Regions from separate parts of the Homo sapiens genome. Here region 1 is linked to region 2. The links are contacts of gene promoters, found by promoter capture Hi-C in blood cells and fetal thymus (Javierre and others, 2016). All regions are on one chromosome and are shown on one strand. Each heading gives the region's core, a stretch centred on a gene start or on the middle of the fragment in contact. The rest is flanking DNA. Distances are from core to core; before and after follow the strand shown.

Region 1 (4,741 bases), core at 1,465-3,964, 410 kb before region 2:
AAATCCTCTCCTTACCACTGAACATCCTCCATGACATCCACTTTCTCTCTGCTTAGCATTATTGTTTTCTTCATAGCACGTATTTAATATGTGACATAATTTGTTTCTCTGCCTCTACCACTAACACAGGGGCTCGACAAGCGCAGGAACTTGGCTCCTTTTGCTCATTGCCATATTCAGTTCTCTAGAACATTCTTAGCAACTTATAAATGTTTAAGAATTTATTGAACGATTGACAATAAATACACTAATATAAATCATGAATCTCAAGTAATATGCAGATTTCTTGAAATTTCAAAATTCTGTTTGAGCACAGAATTTTTTTTAACAGAAATGCCTATTAGTATCTCATAGGACAGAGTTTCAGAGTATTTGGGGAAATGCTGCCTTAATTATAAAATGGTAAAATCAGATTCAGTCTTTTCCTTTACATATTTTTATCTTTTAGTCCAAGACCCTGTGTCATCCCATCAGCCAGTTTCCTTCAGTACTATCAAGTATCACATCACAGGTAACATCAGCCGCATCTGAACCCAGCAGCCAGCCTCTCCCTGTGATAACACAGCTCACCATGCCCGTGTCTGTCACGCATGCTGGGCAATCTCTGGCAGAAACAACTTCAAGCCCAAAGGAAGAAGGTCATCCGAATACCTTCACCTCTTATCTACAAGTGTCATTGCAGAAGGCATCTGGTCAGGTAAACATGGGAAATTCAAGTCACAGGTAGCTTTGTGACCCCCAAAAAGTACTTGGTTCACCCATTTGCCTCCCTGCAGAACTACACCTAAGAATGCCTGACAGACCAGCGTATATGCCAATCCAAAACAAAAACTAAACAAGTCCATGGAAACAGCCAATTTGACAGCACATATACAGCCCAACGTTTCATTAATGACACTATTTAATGCTATTCTATTTAATGCTTCAGATGGGGAAGAAGTTCTGTTCACCTACCCTGCTTTTTCAGCAGCAGCAAACCTCTAGACAATTCCTCCTACTCACTGTCCCCTCTCTCCGCCTTGTTTCCTTCCTCCCAAAAACATGGACAAGGCAGCCAGGCTCACTGAGTCACGCCTATAATCCCAGCATTTGGGAGGCCAAGGTGAGAGGATCACTTGAGCCCAGGAGTTTTAGACCAGACTGGGCAACGTAGCAAGACCTTTCTCTACTAAAGTTCAAAAAAATTAGCCAGGCACAGTGGCTCACGCCTGTAATTCCAGCACTTTGGGAGGCCGAGGTGGAGGATCACGTAAGCCCGAGTTTGAGACCAGCTTAGGCAACTTTATGAGACCTTTTCTCTATTAAACTTCAAAAAAAAATTAGCCAGGTGTGGTGGCATGTGCCTGTAGTCCCAGCTACTTGGGGGTGGCGGGGCAGGGGCTGAGGTGGGAGGGTTGCTTGAGCCTGGGAGGTCCAGACTGCAGTGAGCCATGATTGTGCCACTGTATACTGTAGGCTGGGCAACAGAACAAAACTCTCTCTCAAAAAAAGGCAAAGTCCCTTTGACAGTATTGACTGAAGAAAATAATCCTGCTTCCCTCATGCTTTTTTTTCCCTAAACTCAAACGAGCCCTGTTTATATGCAGTTGAACATTTCCCTGCTAAAACAATCCTGTTCACTCTGGATCTGCTTGCAATGGTAATGGAAATTCAGTGTTCTATTTGGGGGAGAAACTGACCTACAGGAGTTTAAACAAAGATTTTTGTTTTTGTTTTTGTTTTTCTTGGAAATCCTGAAGTACAGAATATCTAAAAGGATCTATAATAAATTATTAGAAATATTAAGAGGATTTAGCAATGTCAGCATTTAATCAAGATTTCTTGAATATGTGGTTGAATTAGGCTGTGAGTGAGGTATTCTCCAGAAATGGACCATGTAGTTGGCATTAATGGTGATTGTCTCAGGGTTGGACTTTGAGTTCAAGTGCAGTAGCCACTTAAGCTTTGGGACCGCGGCCATTTGCTCAGTCTGTTTCTTAGGGCAGGGAGGTTTTCTGCTTCCCACCTCTTGCTATGAGTCATTTTAAGTCATTACCTCTTGAATATGGACTCTTTTTTTGAGACAGATTCTCGATCTGTCGCCCAGGCTGGAGTGCAGTGGCGCAATCTCGGCTCACTGCAACCTCTGCCTCCCGGGTTCAAGAGATTCTCCTGCCTCAGCCTCCCGAGTAGCTGGGACTACAGGTGTACACCACCAAGCCTGGTTAATTTTTGTATTTTTAGTAGAGACAGGGTTTTGCTATGTAGGCCAGGTTGCTCTTGAACTCCTGACCTCAAGTGATCTGCCTGCCTTAGCCTCCCAAGTGCTGGGATGACAGGCGTGAGCCATCACGCCCAGCCTTAAATACGAATACTTGAATGGAGGGAAACACACACACAGGGAAGCCTGAGAGGAAAACATACTTCTGAATAGAAAAGTTTGGTTTTGGCTTTTTAATTTCCAAGTTTCCCTCATCTTCATGGCCTTAACACTTAAAGTTACTGCTATAAATCTTATTTCCAGACTCATTTGCCCTTGGAGCAATCATTATATAATCTCGTTATTCATTTTCTCTATCGTATGGAAGAAGTAGAAATAAATTCTGTCCACTCGCAGAAAAGCTTCTGAAAGTAATCACTGTTTTAGAGAGCTGTGGTTCATAGGGTTTATAAAGTTACCCAAGGTCAACTTGGATGAAAATAATCTCCCTGACTACTACAGTACAGTAATTTTGTATGAGTAATTTTGACAACTTCTTTGTTCCCAATAGGTCATAGATGAGATAGCAGGGAACTTCAGCAGAGCAGTTCATGGTTTGCAAGCTCTTAACAAACTACAGGAAGCTTGTGAGTTCCTCCAGAAACTAACAGCCTTAACCCCAAGATTTTCTAAGCCAGCTCAGGTAAGTGGAGGGTGACTGGGAGGGAAGAAGGTAGGAGAGAGGGAAAAGCGGAAAACAGAAAAAGAGAATCTGAGGCTGGGTGCGGTGGCTCACGCCTGTAATCCCAGCACTTTAGAAGGCCGAGGCGGGCGGATCACATGAGGCCAGGAGTTCAAGACCTGACTGGGCAACATGGCAAAACCCGTCTCTACTGAAAAAACAAAAATTAGCTGGGCTCGGTGGCGGGCACCTGTAATCTCAGCTACTTGGAAGGCTGAGGCACAATAATCACTTGAACCCAGGAGGCAGAGGCAATGAGCCAAGATCCCGCCACTCCACTCCAGCCTGGGTGGCTGAGAGACTGTGTCTCCAAAAAAAAAAAAAAAAAAAAAAGAAAGAGAATCTGGAGATTGTGCCTTATGCCAAGCTTAGCATTATAAAGACTGTATTTAAATTTTAGCAAGCATATTTTTTTACCTTTAAATCTGGAAAGTTATGAATTAAATTGATCAGTAGTGACATTGTTGGATATACTGTGTTTATGTTCATTTGTTGATTAATCAGCTGGTACTGCCTTGCTGATGCATTTGTTAGAAGTCTGTCGGCATTCAGTGGAACACATTGGCTCCCACCTGTAGTCCCAGCACTTTGGGAGGCTGAATCAGGCGGATAGCTTGAGCCCAGGAGTTCGAGACCAGCCTGGGCAACATGGTGAAACCCTGTCTCTATCAAAAATACAAAACTTAACTGGGTGTGGTGGTGCTCACCTGTAGTTGCAGCTACTTGGGAGGCTGAGATGGGAGGATGGTTTGAGCCCGGAAGGTGGAGGTTGCAGTGAGCCAAGACTCTGCCACTGCACTCCAGCCTGGGTGACAGAGCCACACTCTGTCTGAAATTAAAAAGACAAAAAACTCAGCATTGGTCTTTTCTTCATTCCTTTTTTTAGTCTGATGGTATTAATTGGATATTTGGTCTACTCACCACTCAAAAAGAATTGTCAGTTTGTCAGAATAACATGAAATATGAATCCTCCCTTATAGGTTATATGAAATAATATATTCTCCTTCCCTGTCAAATTGTAACTTTTTTTTTATAAAATGCATTTGAAATGTATAACGAATATTAAGCTGCTAATAAGAAGTATGCAAATTGAAAATAATCATGTGCTAGGTGTGTGGCTCATGTCTGTAATCTAAACACTTTGGGAGGCCAAGACAGGAGGATCTCTTGGGGCCAGGTGTTTGAGACCAGCCTGGGCAATACAGTGAGCCCCTGCCTCTACAAAAAATTTTTAAAAATTAGGTGTGGTGGTACCCACCTGTGTCCTAGCTACTGGGGAGGCTGAGGAAGGAGGATTGCTTGAGTCCAGAAGTTCGAGGCTGCAGTGAGGCATGATTGTACCACTGCACTCCAGACGGGGCAACAGAGCAAGACCCCATCTCTTAAAAGTAAAATTTTAAAAAGCAATCATAGGCTGGGCGTGGTGGCTCACACCTGTAATCCCAGCACTTTGGGAGGCCAGGGTAGGAAGATCACCTGAGGTCAGGAGTTGGAGACCAGCCTGACCAACATGGAGAAACTCCATCTCTGCTAAAAATACAAAATTAGTTGAGCATGGTGGCTCATGCCTGTAGTCCTAGCTACTCAGGAGGCTGAGGCAGGAGAATTGCTTGAACCCGGGAGGCAGAGGTTGCAGTGAGTCGATATCACGCCATTGCACTCTAGCCTGGGCAACAAGAGTGAAACTCTGTCACCAAAAAAAAAAAAAAAAAAAAAAAGCAAACAATTCAAGGGTGTATGTTTGCTTTCTAATCCTCCCAGGTTAATCTCATCAATTCCCTTATTTACCTGAGTGAGGAGTTACTCAGGATCCCATTTCA
Region 2 (4,990 bases), core at 2,491-4,990:
TTGCACTCCAGCTTGGGTGAGGAGGGTGAGACTCCGTCTCAAAAAAAAGAAAAGAAAATCTGAACCTTGAGTGACAGAAATCAGTCATAGTAGCCTTCTCACATTGAGAAAAATCTGATTCTTACTTGATCTCTTTTAAAGACCAGTGGTCTCAACCTCTGACAAAGATTCTCTGATTGACCAGACTTTTGTCAGGCTTCTGGATCTTCTTCTAAGCCCATCTGCACTTCCTTGCAAGATCCAGTTTTAGCAAAGAACCCTGAGTCATTTTGGCAAGATTTCCCACCCTGCATATCTGACCAGGTTCCTCATTCTTTGCCGTCCCCCAGGGAATGTTTGGTCACCATGGCCTGTCTTCAGCAGGATGACACTGACACTGGCCTTCTAGGTCAGTTTAGCAGAATCCCCCTTACTCCTGATGATTCCTCTTACTTTTTCCATCCTTGGCTATAAATCCACACTTGCCATCACCATATTTGGAGTTGAATCCAATTTCTCTTCCCCACTGGAAAATCCATTGCAGTGGGCCGTCTAGCTATTGGAATGGTCCTGAATAAAGTCTGCCTTACCATGCTTTAACAAGTGTTATTGAATAATTTTTTTTAACACCTCTGAGTCTCTGTCCACCTGGAGAACCACTACAGTAACACTCAGTGAGGTACCTGTGTCATCTCTCAAGCACAGTATATTGTCATGACAGGTAGTCTGAACTCCAAGAGGTTGTTCAAATTAAACATATTTGCATTGCTTTCGTCTTTGTATAGTCCGTAATTGAAACTATCCCTCAAATAACAGGATATGCATAAAAGTTCTCTATCAATCATGAATGTACAAGGACATTCGATATGCTTTATTTTTTATTTTATTTATTTATTTATTGAGACAGAGTCTGGCTCTGTCGCCCAGGCTGGAGTGCAGTGGCGCGACCTCAGTTCACTGCAAGCTCCACCTCCCGGATTCATGCCATTCTCCTCCCTCAGCCTCCCGAGTAGCTGGGACTACAGGCACCCGCCACCAGGCTGGGCTAACTTTTGTATTTTTAGCGGAGATGGGGTTTCACGGTGTTAGCCAGGATGGTCTCCATCTCCTGACCTCGTGATCCGCCTGCCTCAGCAACCCCAAAGTGCTGGGATTATAGGCGTGAGCCACCACACCAGGCTATTTATTTTTATTTTTTATTTTTTGAGACGGAGTCTCACTCTGTCGCCCAGACTGGAGTGCAGTGGCACGATCTCGGCTCACCACAACCTCCACCTCCTGGGTTCAAGCGATTCTCCTGCCTCAGCCTCCTGAGTTGCTGGGATTACAGGTGTGCACCACTGTGCCTGGCTAATTGTTGTATTTTTAGTAGAGATGGGGTTTTGCCATGTTGGCCAGGTTGGTCTTGAACTCCTGATCTCAGATGATCTGCCTGCCTTGGCCTCCAAAGTGCTGGGGTTACAGGCATGAGCTGCCACGCCCAGCCCACACATTATTAAGATTTTAAAAAAAGCAAGCTACAGAACAGCCCTGTCCAATAGACAGAATGCAAGCCACATAGTGACTTCAAATTTCCTAATAGAAATATTTTAAGATATAAAAACAAATAGGTGAAATTAATTTTAAGAATGTATTTTATTTTACTCAGCACACCATGTATTTTATTATCATATATTTTATTATATATTTTATTATATATATACGGTGTACTGAGTAAAATAAAATACATTTTATATATATATATACATATATATATATATATATATATTTTTTTTTTTTTTTTTTTCTGAGGCAAGGTCTCATTCTGTCACCCAGGCTGGAGTGCAATGGCATGATCACAGCTCTCTGCAGCCTTGACCTCCTGGGTTCAGGTGATCTTCCTACCTCAGCCTCCCAAGTAGCTGGGACTATAGGCTCATGCCACCATGCCTGGCTAGTTTTTGTATCTTTTTGTATAGACGGGGTTTCACTATGTTGCCCAAGCTGGTCTTGAATTCCTTAGCTCAAGTGATCCATCCACCTTGGCCTCCCGAAAGGCTGGGATTACCAAAGGTGTGAGCCACCATGCCCAGCCCCAAAATATTCTTTAAACATGTAATCATACAAAATTATATGAGATATTAACATTCTTTTTTTATACTAAGTCTTCAAAACCTGATGTGTATTTTACAACACATCTTAATTCAGACCAGTCACATTTCAAGTATTCAACGGCCACTTATGACTAGTAGCTACAATATTAGACAGTGCAACTATAGACCACGTTTACTCTCCATTTTTTTAGCAACTCCCAAACCAGCTTTATACGTATTGTAATAAACATAGAAAACATTTGGAAGGGTACACAAGAAATGACTAAAAATGATTTTTTTATATAAAATGAGAATGCAGGGAGGGAAGGTGATCAGGGTTTAATTCACGTACATCTCTATTTGAATTTATTATATAAGGATATATCATATTTACTAAAAATGTAAAAGAGAAATGCTTATTCTTTGCAACACAGTCCTTGTATAGAAATCTGTCTTAAGGAAATAATCAAATATGTAAACTAACATTTATGACAAGGATGCCCTTGGCCCAAGACGTGAATAATTTTTTCTAGTGTATCCATGCTATAGACGTTACCTGCCATTACTGTATAAGAAAAAACATAGTGTACCTAGGGCTCAGTACTACCCATGGTTTCAGACATCCATAATTTCAGGCATCCACTGGAGGTCTTGGAGTGTGCTCCCTGTGGATAAGGGGGGACTACTGTATTCAACCCCACTGGAGGCTTGACTCCCTGAAAAGTGAATGGAGAAGAACAAACTGATGTGAAAAATCTTTGTCTTCCAACAAATAAACAGACAGGATCTGAGCCCTGGGGAGATCACTGAGGCTTCTCTTAACCCTTCAGTGGGTGGTATTTTCCATCTGCTCACAGGAATGTTGAGATTTTGGCTGTGGACCTTGTGTTTTGCTTAGCAAAGTTGTTTTGTGTGGATCGCACCTGACATTTTAAATTCTTCCAACAACCATAGGAGGTAAATGAAGAATTCATGCACAGTGCAAGGATAAAACTGCACAGGTTTCAGCTGCCTTGGACACCCTGTGCTTTTCAGCTATTTGTTGAATGGAACTTAAGTGCCCAATTTGTTCTGATTGGAGCAAAACTTTGTGGACTGACAAGGATGGGCGTCCAAGATGTAGGAAGTTAAAAAAAAAATGTTGCCAAACAAGGTGTAGAGCACGATCCTATCTGTGTTTTGAAATCTATGAAATTATGTATCTATGCACCTATATGTAATGTATCTATCTCTGAATGGAGGGAAAGAGCCTGACCATTACCACCCTCTACCCCTGGGAGTGAGAATGAAGTGTACAGGGAGCAGGTGCAAGGAAGAATGCTCACTTCTTACTTTATATATTTCTGTACTGTTAAAATTTTAACAGGCTGTTTTGTAAAAAAAATTTAATAAAAGCTATCAACTGTAACCAGAAGTACTTTCTGACAGTAGATGTTCTCAAACCATCTCACCAAGTGCCCAGAAAGAGTTAACACAGGAGAATTCCAGATGTTTGAAGTGAGGACAAATTCCTGCTTTGAGGGTGGGAGGTGGGCTTAGGGATGAGAGGCAATGACGGGGGAGAGGAGGAAAGAAGCTGAGGGGAGAGCTGGCTGCTGAGTTGTCATTCCAACCAATGGCATGAAAGTTTCAAGCCCAACGCCCATTTGTGGAGACTATTTCAGGAGTTAGGATTTGCATCTGAGTTCATTGCCCCTGTAACCTGTCAAAGAAGAGCTAAGGGAGCTTTCGGGGTTGGCTTCTTGGAGGCTGCTTTCTCCTTTACTTGGAAGGTAAAAATCTCAAGCCCAAGCTGATCAGGCAGTGGTGACTGATTGAGCTGTTAATTTTTTTCTTTTTGGTGTATTGATTTCTTTTTCCAGCTAGGGCTGTAACATGCTTATGGGATAAGGTTTTACTTTTACTAACAATGATATTTACATGGAACTTCTAACAAGATGGAGTGGTTCTTCCTGGTCCTCTGCAGATGACAAGAAGCATTAGGTAGATTTTCTTGGATAGGCTCGCATGGAAAGGAAGGAGAACCTATGCTTTGACTGATGAACAATTTTCATCTTATTCCTTCTTGGTTTCACATAGAGCATGGTTAAGCTTTGACAGGAATTGCAGATGCGTGTAGCAAATCCTACTTAAGTAGAATGGGTTCTTGCTTTATTTTCCATCTCAGTAAAAACTCTTAAAACTCCCCCATTCATAGTAAAGCTACTTTACAACAGAAAGTAGAAAAAAAAATAAAGAGAGAGTTTGGAAAGACACTTTTAGTGAAGTCACCCAATGTTTAGGTCCAAATGTAGCTCCTCTGTCCCCCAGCGCTATGTTATCAACATCACAGGGAACTTCTTTCCCCTCGCAGGCTTCGCTAGTGATGGACCCATACATGATTCAGATGAGCAGCAAAGGCAACCTCCCCTCAATTCTGGACGTGCATGTCAACGTTGGTGGGAGAAGCTCTGTGCCGGGAAAAATGAAAGGCAGAAAGGCCAGGTGGTCTGTGAGGCCCTCAGACATGGCCAAGAAAACTTTCAACCCCATCCGAGCCATTGTGGACAACATGAAGGTGAAACCAAATCCAAACAAAACCATGATTTCCCTGTCCATTGGTGAGTTGGGGACACTACTGAGGGGCTGTCATTGTCCTCCTCTACTCTCATGTTCACAGGCTGGTTGGAGAAGATGGCAGTTGGGGGTGAGTCTGAGTACTGAACATGGGAGAATAACCTCTTGGCTCCTTTTGTGTTTTCCTCCCATAAAAAGGGGACCCTACTGTGTTTGGAAACCTGCCTACAGACCCTGAAGTTACCCAGGCAATGAAAGATGCCCTGGACTCGGGCAAATATAATGGCTATGCCCCATCCATCGGTAAGCTCCTCCTGAGACTCCATACCTGGTGACTGCCAAATCTTTAGTGCTCTTATAACAGGACTAAATGTCTAGCAATC

The links. Contacts are between HindIII fragments. The CHiCAGO score rates a contact against its expected background, and 5 or more counts as called.
Region 1: a contact is called between a fragment that was not itself captured here and the fragment with the promoter of TAT in region 2, in 2 of 17 cell types (total CD8 T cells and naive CD8 T cells). The highest score is 5.8, in total CD8 T cells.

The regions. Positions count from the first base shown.
Region 1 is chr16:71,982,177-71,986,917 of GRCh38, reverse strand. It overlaps PKD1L3 (polycystin 1 like 3, transient receptor potential channel interacting), which reads left to right. Exons shown (of 30, transcript NM_181536.2): 5 at 449-697; 6 at 2,751-2,882; 7 at 4,683-4,741. Among named protein-coding and RNA genes, the nearest start is that of PKD1L3, 16 kb to the left of the region's middle. The HindIII fragment of the contact is 222 bases long and covers 2,604-2,825 here.
Region 2 is chr16:71,575,842-71,580,831 of GRCh38, reverse strand. TAT (tyrosine aminotransferase) reads left to right here and starts at 3,740. Exons shown (of 12, transcript NM_000353.3): 1 at 3,740-3,823; 2 at 4,405-4,651; 3 at 4,806-4,910. The coding sequence starts at 4,417. The HindIII fragment of the contact is 5,727 bases long and covers 1-4,144 here.